5 separate regions of the Homo sapiens genome follow, and regions 2, 3, 4 and 5 are each linked to region 1. Evidence: promoter capture Hi-C in 16 types of primary human blood cells and fetal thymus (Javierre and others, 2016). All regions are on one chromosome and are shown on one strand. Each heading gives the region's core, a stretch centred on a gene start or on the middle of the fragment in contact. The rest is flanking DNA. Distances are from core to core; before and after follow the strand shown. Region 1 holds the start of CEBPE (CCAAT enhancer binding protein epsilon). Region 2 has its middle 11 kb from the start of PABPN1. Region 3 holds the start of BCL2L2 (BCL2 like 2). Region 4 overlaps HOMEZ (homeobox and leucine zipper encoding). Region 5 overlaps AJUBA (ajuba LIM protein).

The links. The method cuts DNA at HindIII sites, captures the fragments that hold promoters and counts their contacts. A CHiCAGO score of 5 or more calls a contact.
Region 2: a fragment that was not itself captured here is called in contact with the fragment with the promoter of CEBPE in region 1 in 1 of 17 cell types (neutrophils); the score reaches 5.1 in neutrophils.
Region 3: the fragment with the promoter of BCL2L2 here is called in contact with the fragment with the promoter of CEBPE in region 1 in 2 of 17 cell types (neutrophils and M2 macrophages); the score reaches 8.3 in neutrophils.
Region 4: a fragment that was not itself captured here is called in contact with the fragment with the promoter of CEBPE in region 1 in 1 of 17 cell types (neutrophils); the score reaches 5.0 in neutrophils.
Region 5: a contact is called between a fragment that was not itself captured here and the fragment with the promoter of CEBPE in region 1, in 1 of 17 cell types (M0 macrophages). The highest score is 5.1, in M0 macrophages.

The regions. Positions count from the first base shown.
Region 1 is chr14:23,117,997-23,120,504 of GRCh38, reverse strand. It overlaps CEBPE (CCAAT enhancer binding protein epsilon), which reads left to right and starts at 1,250. Exons shown (of 2, transcript NM_001805.4): 1 at 1,250-1,923. The coding sequence starts at 1,414. RefSeq lists enhancers at 1-451, 532-611. The HindIII fragment of the contact is 9,723 bases long and covers 1-2,508 here.
Region 2 is chr14:23,331,115-23,333,622 of GRCh38, reverse strand. No RefSeq gene overlaps it. Among named protein-coding and RNA genes, the nearest start is that of PABPN1, 11 kb to the right of the region's middle. The HindIII fragment of the contact is 4,981 bases long and covers 1-2,508 here.
Region 3 is chr14:23,305,579-23,308,086 of GRCh38, reverse strand. It overlaps BCL2L2 (BCL2 like 2), which reads right to left and starts at 1,254. Exons shown (of 4, transcript NM_004050.5): 1 at 1,193-1,254; 2 at 808-895; 3 at 1-327. The coding sequence starts at 319. It overlaps BCL2L2-PABPN1 (BCL2L2-PABPN1 readthrough), which reads right to left and starts at 1,254. Exons shown (of 8, transcript NM_001387346.1): 1 at 1,193-1,254; 2 at 808-895; 3 at 1-327. The coding sequence starts at 319. RefSeq lists an enhancer at 1-395. The HindIII fragment of the contact is 2,126 bases long and covers 1-2,007 here.
Region 4 is chr14:23,278,930-23,281,437 of GRCh38, reverse strand. The region is part of intron 1 of HOMEZ (homeobox and leucine zipper encoding); the gene reads left to right. Among named protein-coding and RNA genes, the nearest start is that of HOMEZ, 5.9 kb to the left of the region's middle. RefSeq lists enhancers at 706-1,206, 1,207-1,707. The HindIII fragment of the contact is 9,442 bases long and covers 1-2,508 here.
Region 5 is chr14:22,973,622-22,976,129 of GRCh38, reverse strand. It overlaps AJUBA (ajuba LIM protein), which reads left to right. Exons shown (of 8, transcript NM_032876.6): 5 at 1,026-1,156; 6 at 1,240-1,291; 7 at 2,015-2,083. Among named protein-coding and RNA genes, the nearest start is that of AJUBA, 7.7 kb to the left of the region's middle. RefSeq lists an enhancer at 732-1,232. The HindIII fragment of the contact is 4,841 bases long and covers 1-2,508 here.

The DNA.
Region 1 (2,508 bases), core at 1-2,500:
ACCTACAATCCCTTTTGGAGATGAAATTCAACAGGTAAAAGCAGTACCAGAGCAGGTGTCTCTGAAAGGAGGTAGTGGGGAGTTCCCAAAGGAAAGAGAAAAGGGAAGAGGAGAGCCAGCACAGAACAAAGAATTGCAGAGAGGGAGCCATGGGCTTCTCCTGGAGACCCTAAAACAGAGCCCCAGGAAGAGGTGATGACATAAGAGGCTTCTCAAACCTCACAAGAGGAAGTAGACCCAAGAGACACGCATTGGAGATCAGAGAGCGGCCATGCAAAAGGAAAGACAGCAAACGAGCTGCAGCAAGCTCCTAAGCCCTGCAGCCCAGGCACAGGAAACCAGAGGCAGAGCCTCAGGCCCAGGGTGAGGGGCGAAGCACCAGCCTGAGCCTCTTGCAGCACAGAGCAGCTGGAAGAGAGAAGTGCTGGAGCCACCGGAGGATTATGGCTGTCTACTCCGAGGGCAGCAACCTGCCTAGGCCTGCGGTGCAAGGCCCAAGTCCTGACCAGGTGCTTTGGCCAAGCCCAGGGAGTTAGGAAGTGTACCAGGCTGCTAGAGGTAGCTAGGGCTGGAAACGCACTAACATGTGGGCTATTGCACAGCTCCTGTGCAAAAACCTAGCAAATGAGCATGCTCTGGAGCACCACGCAGGCTCGCGTGTAGAGCTTGTTCCTAGGACCTATCACTACTCCCTAGACCCCTCAAAAAACAAACCCTGGCCTACACTCAGAGAATGCTCTGGGAGGTGGGGCTACAAAAGAAACTTTCTCTTGGGGGTAGGTGGAGCCCAGCAGCAGGGGAGAGCCAGAGGAAGGCGTGTCAAGGGAGGAGGTGAGACCCAACTGAGGGTAGGCACTGGAAGAGGGCTTTCTCTCTTCACTCTAACTTGGAACCTCATTCTGCATAGAACTTTTTCAAAGTCGGAGGGAGGAGGTTGCTCAGAGTGGGGTGTTGCCCTCTGCGAGGATTTGGAGTCCCCTGGCCTCCCAGCAGGGAGTGGAGAGGCATTCCCAGAAGCATCAGCTTCGGGCATCTCCAGAACCCTGGCTTGGTCCCTGACCAAGGAGTGTCCCCAACTGCTGAATAGGCCAGGAGTCGCCTTTCTCTAAGGCTTACATCTCTCCCTCTGGGGTGTGTCCTGCCCCTCCCTGAGTCACCCCAAGGGGAGAGAGGGGAAAAAAGGGAAGAGAAGAGAGGCATTGACTACAGAGGAAGGAAAAGGAAGCAGAGCAGAGGGGGGAGAGAGGCCACACAGGAGTGGGTGACAGAGGAGACTGCAGAGGGCAGGTCTAGGGCAGAAGATCGAGAGAGGGCAGGCCCAGGTCAGGAGGAGGTAGAGAGAGGGCAGCCGGAGCACCCCAAGGGGTGCCTCAAGAGCAGGTGGGGGCGGGGAGCCGAGGGGGCGGGCCGGCCATGTCCCACGGGACCTACTACGAGTGTGAGCCCCGGGGTGGCCAGCAGCCACTCGAGTTCTCAGGGGGCCGAGCTGGGCCCGGGGAGCTAGGGGACATGTGTGAGCATGAGGCCTCCATTGACCTCTCCGCCTACATCGAGTCTGGGGAAGAGCAGCTTCTCTCCGATCTCTTTGCCGTGAAGCCAGCGCCTGAGGCCAGAGGCCTCAAGGGCCCCGGAACCCCTGCCTTCCCCCACTACTTGCCGCCTGACCCTCGGCCCTTTGCCTACCCTCCACATACCTTCGGCCCAGACAGGAAGGCGCTGGGGCCTGGCATCTACAGCAGCCCAGGGAGCTACGACCCCAGGGCTGTGGCGGTGAAGGAGGAGCCCCGGGGGCCAGAGGGCAGCCGAGCTGCCAGCCGAGGCAGCTACAATCCCCTGCAGTACCAAGTGGCACACTGTGGGCAGACAGCCATGCACCTGCCCCCAACTCTGGCAGCACCCGGCCAGCCTCTGCGCGTTCTCAAGGTAAGAGCAGGCCAGCCCTCCTCCCTCCTGCCCGGGGCTGGAGAGGCTGGTGTGGACAGGACCCTGTGCCCCGGCTCATGCTGCTGAGCCTGTGCTTGGTGTCGCTCTGTGAAATGGACCCAACCCACAGTCCTCTGTGTTCACACCCCACCATGACCTCCCTTTCCTTCTCTGTGAATTCATTCCCACCCTGAATCCCCACCCAAAGCCCCTGTGGCAAGCTGACCTACTTGATCTCAGGCCCCCACCGCCAGCCTCTCTGCTGCTCACCATGCCCCCTCCTCTTGTTTCTCTGCCGCCTGCTTCTGTGAGAAATGTCTACTGGTCATAGAACGGGAGACTCAAGGCAGATTGAGGGAAAGTGTACTCAGAAAGTGTGAGAGCATTGGCTGGGTGTCGTGGCTCATGCCTGTAATCCCAGCGCTTTGGGAGGCCAAAGCAGGAGGTTCGCTTAAGGCCAGGGGTTGGAGACCAGCCTGGACAACATAGCAAGGCTCCATCTTTACAAAAAAAGAAAGAAAGAAAGTGTGAGAACATGAAAGGGAGTTTTGGTCTCAAGCAGAGGACCCTGTGCATCTGGGTCAC
Region 2 (2,508 bases), core at 7-2,506, 210 kb before region 1:
AAGACCCAGACTAGCTGAATAATCTTGAAAAAGAGCAAAATTGGCGGACTCACACTCCTAAAATTTCAAAATTTATTACAAAGCTACAGTAATATAGACAGTGTGGTACTGCCATAAGGACAAACACGAAAATCAATGGAACAGAATTGAGAGTCCAGAGACTGGTCAATTGATTTACAAAACAGGGACCAAGACAATTTAATGGGAAAAGAAGTCTTTTTAACAAATGATACTGGGACAACTGGATATCCACATGCAAAAGAAGAGAACTGGACCCCTGTCTTATACCATAAACAAAAATAAATTCAAGGGCGGGATGTCTGTAATCCAGCACTTCAGGAGGCTGAAGCGGGCAGATCACTTGCGGTCAGGAGTTCGAGACCAGCCTGGCCAACATGGTAAAACCCTGTCCCTACTAAAAATACAAAAATTAGCTGGGCGTGGTGGCAGGCACCTGTAATCCCAGCTACTCAGGAGGCTGAGGCATGAGAATTGCTTGAATCCAGTGGGCAGAGGTTGCAGTGAGCCGAGATAGCACCACTGCACTCCAGCCTGGGTGACAGAGTGAGACTCTGTCTCAATAAATAAATAAATATTTTTAAAAAAAACTCAAAATGGATCAAAGACCTAAACATAAGAGCTAAAACTATAACACTCTCAGTAGAAAATATAGACACATCTTCATGACTTTTGTGCTTCAAAAGATGCTGTCAAGAAAGCAAAGAACTGGGCCGGGCGCGGTGGCTCACGCCTGTAATCCCAGCACTTTGGGAGGCCGAGGCGGGCAGATCACGAGGTCAGGAGATCGAAACCATCCTGGCTAACACGGTGAAACCCCGTCTCTACTAAAAATACAAAAAATTAGCCAGGCAAGGTGGCGGGCGCCTGTAGTCCCAGCTACTCGGGAGGCTGAGGCAGGAGAATGGCGTGAACCCTGGGGGGCAGAGCTTGCAGGGAGCCGAGATCGCGCCACTGCACTTCAGCCTGGGCAACAGCGAGACTCCATCTCAAAAAAAAAAAAAGCAAGCAAAGAACCCACAAAATGGAAGAAAATATTTGCAAATCATATATCTGATAAGTCTAGTCTTCAGTATTCAGTATTCAGCAAAGGAAGGCTGGGCATGCTGATGCATACCTGTAGTCCCAGCTGTTGGGGAGGCTGAGGCAGAGGGTTTGCCTAATGCCAGGAGTTCAAGTCTGAAGTGCACTATGGCATGCACTGGAGTACCATGCCTGTGTACGCTAGCCTGAGCAACATAGCAACACCTCATCTCTAAAAATAAAAAAAAAAAAATTTTTTAAATTAAAAAGAAGTCTTGCAAGAAAACAATCTACTTTAAAAATGAGGACCAGGCTTGGTGGCTCATCCCCGTAACCCCAGCACTTTGGGAGGCTGAGGCGGGCAGATTGCTTGAGACAGGAGTTCAAGAGCAGCCTGGGCAACATGGCGAAACCCCATTTCTAGAAAAATTAAAAACTAGGCGGGCGTGGTGGCACGCACCTGTAGTCCCAGCTACTCAAGAGGCTGAGGTAGGAAGATCACCTAAGCCTGGGGAGGTTGAGGCTGTGAATAGCCGTGATTGGGCCACCGCACTCCACCCTGAGGGACAGAGTGAGACCCAGTCTCAAAAAAGAAAAAAGGCAAAGAATCTGAATATATATATATACACACACACACATACATACAAATGGCAAATAAGCACATGAAAAGATGCTAAACATCTTTGAGTCATCAGACAAATGCAAATTAAAACTACGATGAGATACCTCTTCATACCCTCTAGGATGGCTATAGCCAAAGAGATTGACAATAACAAGTTTGGTGCGGATGTAAAGAGACCAGAAGCCTCATACATTGCTGGTGAAAATGTAAAATGATGCAGCTGCTTTGGAAAACAGTCTGGCAGTTCCTCAAAAGGTTAAAGATAGTTACCATGGGTCTTAGTCCATTCATCTGGGCTGCTGTAACAAAATAAGGTAGACTGGGTGGCTTACAAGCAACAGAAGTTTATTTGTTGCAGTTCTGGGGACTGGGAAGCCCAATATCAAGGTTCTGGCAGATTTAATATCTGGTGAGATCCCATTTCCTGGTTCATAGATGGTACCTTCTCACTGTATCCTCACGTGATGTAAAAGGGCAAGGTAGCTCTTGGGGCTTCTCCTATGAACTAATGACCTCCCATAAGTCCCGAACTGCTAATATCATCACTTTGGGGGTTAGGATTTCAGCATATGGATTGTGGTGGAGGTGCAAACACTCAAACCATAGCACAGTATGACCCAGCAACTCCATTCTTAAGTATATACCCAAGAGAAATGAAAACATATGTTCATACAAAAACTTATACAGTTGTTTGGAGCCAGACTATTTGTAATAGCCAAAAAAATAGAAACAACCCAAATGTCCATCAGTTGATGATGGAAACAAAATGTGTTATATCCAATGAAATACTAGTCAGCCATAAAAAGGAATACTGGGCCAGGCATGGTGGCTTATGCCTGTAATCC
Region 3 (2,508 bases), core at 5-2,504, 190 kb before region 1:
ACAGTGCAGCCCCAAAGACAAAGAAGGCTACAAGGCGGCCCCAGTTGGGGCCCCCTTGAAAAAGTTCATCGGAGACCTGGGTGAAGCGTTGTTGGGCTGAGCCTGGGGTCACATGCAGCTGAGCCGCCAGATCAGAGAAGGTGCGCCGGAAGCGGGTCTCGAACTCATCTCCAGCTGCCCGCATGGCTTGGTGCAGCGGGTCAGCTGCTGGGCCCTCCCCGGGGCCAGCTCCACAGACATAACCCTTCTGCCTCAGCTTATAACCTACAAAGTCTGCCACCAGAGCCCGTGTGTCTGGGGCCGAGGCTGGGGTCGCCATCCGGGCGGCTATAAGAGGCAAGGATGAAAGACTGGCATGAATATATGAAGAGAGAATCAGAAGGAGCACTTCTGGTTTGACCAACCCAGTGAGATGAGGAGGAGAGAGGAAATGCTCAGGACTCACTGGACAGGGAGAGGCAAGAACAAGGGAATTAAGTCATGATATGAGACTAGGCTGTGAGTGGCTGGCCATTACATTCCTAATATGCCAAATTAAATGTAAAACAAGTAAATTTTCTGTTTAGGATACTTTAGATTCTTTTCACAATAAGACAACGTCAGCTCAATGACACCCCTACAACACCCCCACCCCCGGGTCTCCTTAGTCCACACCTTCTTGGCTAGAGGAAGGGTCTTAGGACCTCCCCAAATGCAAGATGTAAAGATGTTGGCAGAGACACAAGATGAGGGGGAGCAGATGGGCTGAAGAGAAAGGTGGGAGACGCAATGGGTTACTCCAGACAGAGAAAGGAAGGAGACACTCACCCAGCCGGGATGGCAGCTCTTAAGACACAGCACTGGTGGCAAGGAGCCCCCAGCTGGGGCCTTTCATCCTCCTGGCCAGCGTGGAGCCCTGGAAAGGGGAGGGGGAGATCAGAACCAGGAGGGGAAGGCCAGGGATCAGGTTCTGGCCTGGGAAGGGCTAGGGTTGCAGCTCTGGGCCTAGGCCCCTGCCCCCAACGCTCTACCAGCTGTGTGGCCGAATCCATGTTTAATGACTGTCCTCCCGGGAAACCCAAGGCCAAGGGCTTCCTGCCGACACCATCTCTATTCCCGGTTCCCCCTAGTGCAGCCCAAAGGCCCAGCTCCTCCCTTACCCCCACCTCAGCCAGTCTCCAACCCCGCCCGCCTGCCAGGTTAGGGATCTCACGGGTCAGGCCGCTGCCGGGATCCGGGCCGTTTCCTGGTGCAGGAGCTGGGAGGGAGGGAGAGAGGGAGGAAGGGAGGGAAGGAAGGAGGGAGGAGAAAGGGGGGGGCAGAGGGAGGGCCCGGCGCCGGGTGATGATGGGGCCCAGAGATGCGTCCAGAGAGAGGGGCGGGGCTGGGACGCAGGCCTGCAAAGGGCCACTACTCAGGAAGAGGGAGGGCTGCTGAAGGCAAAGAAGGGCTGGCTGAGAGGGCACGGTGGGCTGGGCTGGGCTGGGCTCCTGAGCCTCTAGGCTGCCCAGAGAAATATGCCGGACTTCGGGACATCTCGGGGCAAATTTAGCATTTTCAGGAGGTTTCCGATGTTCCATGCACTTGTTGAACTTTTCCAGCCCTGAACTGTGTGCCTGGAAAACAGGAGCAGTTCCCATTAAGCTGGGAACCGTCTACCAGGTGCCTTACCCTTATGGGGCTAGCAGACACCACATAGACACCAAACCTTTCCCATCTTTTCTCCAGGACCTTTAACCCAGTGTTCTCTTTGTGGGCTGGGCTTCAGCCAGGCATTAGGGAGCCAGGACTTGGATCACAAGCAGTTTCTCTCGGTACTTTTCTTTAATTCATCTTCTTTTGTAATTAGATTGATTTTAGTGGGGTTTTTTTCTTTTTCTTTTTTTTACCCAACACACAAACTCATTCTCATTATGAAAAAAATCAAACAATAAAGACGTGCGGAGTAATAAAATACAGGTTCTCAAACACACACACACATACACACCCAATTCCACTTCCCTCCCTGCAGGTTGCCAGTGTTAAGCTTGATGTTTATCCTTCCAGATTACATATATATGGGGCCATTATTTATACATGGCAGTATATTTATACAGGGCAGGTCACAGGCGTGAAGCAGTCTGACCATAGCTGATCCACATGAGGGCACTCACAGCCAGCCCCCTGGGCTCTTGGATCTGGCACTTTTTTAAAGAGTGCCCCAACCAAAGGCCAGAAAGAGGCAACCTAATTCTCCTATTCTGCTAGCTCCCTTTGCTTCTACCTCCAATCCAAGCCTCTGTATTACCATCTTCCCTTATGGTCACTGGAGAAGCAAGGTCTTTTCTGCAGCAATAACAGTAACAACTAGCTGGGTTCGGTGGCTCATACCTGTAATCCCAACACTTTGGGAGGCCAAGGCGGGTGGATCACTTGAGGCCAGGAGTTCGAGACCAGCCTGACCAACATGGCAAAACCCCATCTCTACTAAAAATACAAAAATTAGCCAGACGTAAAATACAAAAATTAGCCAGCCTGTAATCCCAGCTG
Region 4 (2,508 bases), core at 6-2,505, 160 kb before region 1:
CCTGAGATCACATAGCTGATAAGTGGCAGAACCGGGATTCAAACTCAGAGGTTGGCCTTATTGAAGAATTCATATTTCTACCCGTCATGCCATGCTGCCTCCATTGACCCTCTTAAGGGGCTCTTCAAGCAGTATTGCTTTCAGGGTCTGCGTGGCCTCAGTTAGTTAGATTTGCTTGTTAAAAGGAAATGGTGACACGTATTAAAATGCTTCTGAATTTTAAAAATCATGGTGTAAAATCCCTGCGATCACATTGCTCTAAATGTATGGACTTGAGGTTTATTTTTGCAATTCATCGTGTAGCATTTACATAGGAATCCTGTCCTGTCCTTAGCAGATCAGGAGTAATACTTAAAAACACAGATAGAAGGCTGGGCCCGGTGTTTCACGCCTGAAATCCCAGCACTTTGGGAGGCTGAGGCAGGCAGATGACGAGGTCAGGAGATCAAGACCATCCTGGCCAACATGGTGAAATCCTGTCTCTACTAAAATACAAAAAAGCCAGGTGTGGTGGCGTGCGCCTGTAGTCCTAGCTACTCAGGAGGCTGAGGCAAGGGAATCACTTGAACCCAGGAGGCGGAGGTTGCAGTGAGCCAAGATCGTGCCACTGCACTCCAGCCTGGCGACAGAGCAAGACTCCGTCTCCAAATAAAATAAAATAAAATAAAATAAAATAAAATAAAATAAAATAAAATAATAAAATAAAATAAAATAAAATAAAATAAAAATAAAAATATAAAAATAAAAATAAAATATAACAGATGTGATTCCCCTAAGAGTAAAGGGTGATGGATGTGTTAAAGGGTCTCTAGTGCCCACACAGGGAGCTGAGTTAAAAATTGTCAACAGAATATTCTGGGAAATAACTTGAGCAGTTATTTCAGGAAAGCAGCACAGTCAAAGGCTATTCCTGCAGTCCCCATACCCATAATCCTGGGAGCAGTGGTGCTGCTGGGTAGCTTGCAGGAGCTGGTTACAATTTATAATGAGCCTGTCCACCTGGTCTTGAGGAGAAAGCTGGGCTGAAAAGTTAAGCTCAGGAGACCTTCTGCCCTGTGTGGAGGGGGCTGTTAGTGACTGAGGGAGCTTTCTGGGCTCCCTGGGGAGAAGCTGAGCTGTTGGAAGAGACAAAGGCTGGGGGAGGGGATAACCTTTGTTCCAAGGCTGACTTGGAGGAGGAAACATTCCCCTCTCTATTTTCACATGACCTAAAGGGTTAGGGGAGTGAGCCTCATTTATCCCCAATCTCTGACCCATGTCTCTCATCCAACCAAGAGATGGAAAAAATAAAGCTATCAGGTTTGGGCTTAGGGCTTAAAGGTACTGTCAGTCGCCTTCCCCCAACACTCCACCACCAAGAAGGGAAAGAAAAAAGGGGGGCTGGGCAGAGGACAGTGCTGTCCTACCTTCCAGATATTCATCAGTTGTATTCCCAATCTGTTGATCCACATTCTAAATATAAATTGTTAGCAGCCAAAGAGTTAGTAACAAGCCAGGAACAATGTTGTGCACCTGTAGTTCTAACTACTCAGGAGGTTGAGGCAGGAGGGTCACTTGATCCCAGGAATTCGAGGCTGTAGTGCATTATGATTGCACCTATGCATAGCACGCCAGCCTGGGCAACATAACGAGAACTTGTCTCTAAAAAAAAATAGTGGCCAGGCGCGGTGGCTCATGCCTGTAATCCCAGCACTTTGGGAGGCCAAGGCAGGTGGATCACCTGAGGTCAGGAGTTCGAGACCAGCCTGGCCAACATAGCATTAGATATGAGTTCTAAATTTCTCTTCAAAGAATCAATATGTCAGTATGTTCAATTCTTTGCCTTCTACTTTTAAACTTAACTTCCTTGTAAAGCAACCTTTTTCGATCACCTGCTCCACCCTGACTCATTCCGATTACCTGCTCTGCCCTGACTCATTCTCCACCCTGACTCCTTCCGATTTCCTGCTCTGCCATAACCATTTTCCCCACCAAACCACTCACCCGGTCACTCTCTTTAAATTAGCCAATCGGAATTAGTTTAGCCTGTGCGGTCTAACCCTAGCCAATATGGGAATGACAGCGGCAGGGGCCACCTGTGTCAGGAATAAGAACTTCTTCCCCTCTTTTGTCCAGGTGTGTGCTCACCACTGCTCCATCTATGAGGGCGCACCCTTCTATAGAAGTAAATTGCCCTACTGAGAAGAAAAAAAAAAGAAAATTTTATATTCGATTGCTATTTCTTTTGTGGCACCGAAACTTTATTTATAACAATAGTGAAACTTCGTCTCTACTAAAAGTACAAAAATTAGCTGGGCATCATGGTGCACGCTTGTAATTCCAGCTACTCAGGAGGCTGAGGCAGGAGAATCACTTGAACCCGGGAGGTGGAGGTTGCAGTGAGCCAAGATCACGCCACTGCACTCCAGCCTGGGTGACAGAAAGACTCTGTCTCAAAAAAAAAAATAGTTATTAACAATTCTGGCCAGGCGCCGTGGCTCACGCCTGTAATCCCAGCACTTTGGGAGG
Region 5 (2,508 bases), core at 4-2,503, 140 kb after region 1:
ACAAAGTGGAATGATCTCGGCTCACTGCAACCTCCGCCTCCCAGGTTCAAGTGATTCTAGTGCCTCAGCCTCCCAAGTAGCTAGGACTACAGGCATGCGCCACCATGCCTGGCTAATTTTTGTATGTTTAGTAGATAAAAGGTTTTGCCATGTTGGCCAGGCTGGTCTCGAATTCCTGGCCTCAAGTGATCCTCCTGCCTCAGCCTCCCAAAGTGCTAGATTATAGGCGTGAGCCACCATGCCCAGCCTGGGGTCCTGAGTCGTCTTCTTTTTTTTTTTTTTGAGATGGAGTCTCACTCTGTTGCCCAGGCTGGAGTCCAGTGGTGCGATCTCGGCTTACTGCAAGCTCCGCCTCCTGGTTCACGCCATTCTCCTGCCTAGCTGGGACTACAGGCGCCCGCCACATGCCCGGCTAATTTTTTGGTGTGTTTTTAGTAGAGACGGGGTTTCACTGTGTTAGCCAGTATGGTCTCGATCTCCTGACCTTGTGATCCGCCCACCTCGGCCTCCCAAAGTGCTGGGATTACAGGCGTAAGCCGCCGCGCCCGGCCAGTCCTGAGTCTTAATCCCCTTTCTGCTACTGGTTAGAATCACTTGGGACTCAGTTTTCTTTTCTGTAAAAACAAAAGATAGGATTAAATCAGTGATTCTCAATCATGGTAGCCTAGCAGATCAGCTGGGAAGAACTAAAAAACAAAACAAAACAAAAAACAGTGTTTGGATCCCATCACCACAGATTGTGATAATAGGCCTGGAGGAGGGCCAAAGCATTGATGTTTTTTAAAAGCTGCCTAGGTGATCCTGATATGCAGCCAGAGTGAAACACTGCTGGCCTGAATGCTCTCTCAGGCACTTTTCAGGGTCTCCGCCTCCATTTTACGACTTCTTCACCGACATTACATAGCATTGTTCTGGGAGTATAGCAGCGGGTTGGATGAGGTTAATGGGAGTAATAAGGAGCATAATGGGCAGCTGGAGAGCTGGGACTGGAGGGAGACTGATTCTCTTGCTACCCCATGAGCCAGATCCTACAAGCAATGGGGAAGTCCTATCATCCAGGCTGTTTCCGATGCATTGTTTGCAACAAGTGCCTGGATGGCATCCCCTTCACAGTGGACTTCTCCAACCAAGTATACTGTGTCACCGACTACCACAAGTGAGTCTGCCCCTTGGGATGCAGTGTGGAACTGGGTCCAGGGATTCCCCAGCCTCAGCTCATCTCTTCCCTCTCTCTTTCAGAAATTATGCTCCTAAGTGTGCAGCCTGTGGCCAACCCATCCTCCCCTCTGAGGTCAGTATGTCTGGGTTCTCCTTCAGGGCAGCCAGTGCCACTGCCTTTGGGGAGGGGATAGGGACATGCTGCCTGGCCTCCTGCCAGAAGTGGTAGTGCCAAGGAATGTACTCTGTGAAGATTCCCGTGTGACTCTGCCTCTTGGGGTCACCACCCTGACCCTAATATCCGGGCCTGGACATGTCTGAAAGCCTAACTGGGCCCAGGCTCCATCTCTTCTATCCCAGTCCAGAGGAGGAGACTTTCTTTGAGGTCGAGGTCACCAGACTGCAGATGTAGGGGCTGGAAAAAGGTGGGAAGAATCCTCAGCACTGGTAGGAAGGGGTCAGAAATGATTTAAGCTGAGTGTAGGGGATGTGCCTATGGAGAGAAACCAAAAGCCAGTGAGGACCAGATCTTATTGGATCCCCTTGTTCCCAGCCTAGCCTACTTTATTTAGGCCTCCTGTCCCCTTCCCTTCCCTTTGCTTCCTGCACAACTGAGAGACGCAGGTAAGGCCAGGGCTGTTGTACAGAGGGAGTGTGCTCCATGGGTGCAGCCCAGTGAAGGAGATGAGAGTTCTGGTAGGATTTGCAGAAGCATCTTAAAACTACAGGTGATTGCAGAGAGACTCTGGGGGCATTTGTATGATCTTCCCATGGGGTGGGAAGGGTTGTATATGAGGGAAAGGTGGAGGTGAGGCAACATGCTGCTCTCATCTCCATGGGGGTCTGCATGTTTCAGGGCTGTGAGGACATCGTGAGGGTGATATCCATGGACCGGGATTATCACTTTGAGTGCTACCACTGTGAGGTGAGTGTTGGGGTTCAGCGGTGCTGGAGAAGAAGTGGAAATGGGGAGAGGGGAGGAGTCAAGTCCTGCAACAACCAGACATCTATGGGAGAGGTGTAGGGCATGGGAAACCAGAAAGATATTGTGACCTATCTTCAGTCTCTTTTTTGTCCTCCAGCCACTCTCTCTGGTCCAAGTAGCTTAGTCCTTTCTGAATCTGACTCTCCCAGAGTCAGGACTTTCTAAGACTAGGGACTCTGGTCAAACTTCTTGAAAGACAGGCTTGTGTCATTATTTCTGCTGCAGCAGTGACACCTGGTGTCCAGCTGAGGTATTAGTATTTTCTCAGATTGCTCTTCCATCCCTTCCATCCTTCCCTTCCCACCCCATCCCTTTCTTCCAGTTATTAGGAGTCAGGTGTTGAGCAGGGCAGACTCCTAAGATAC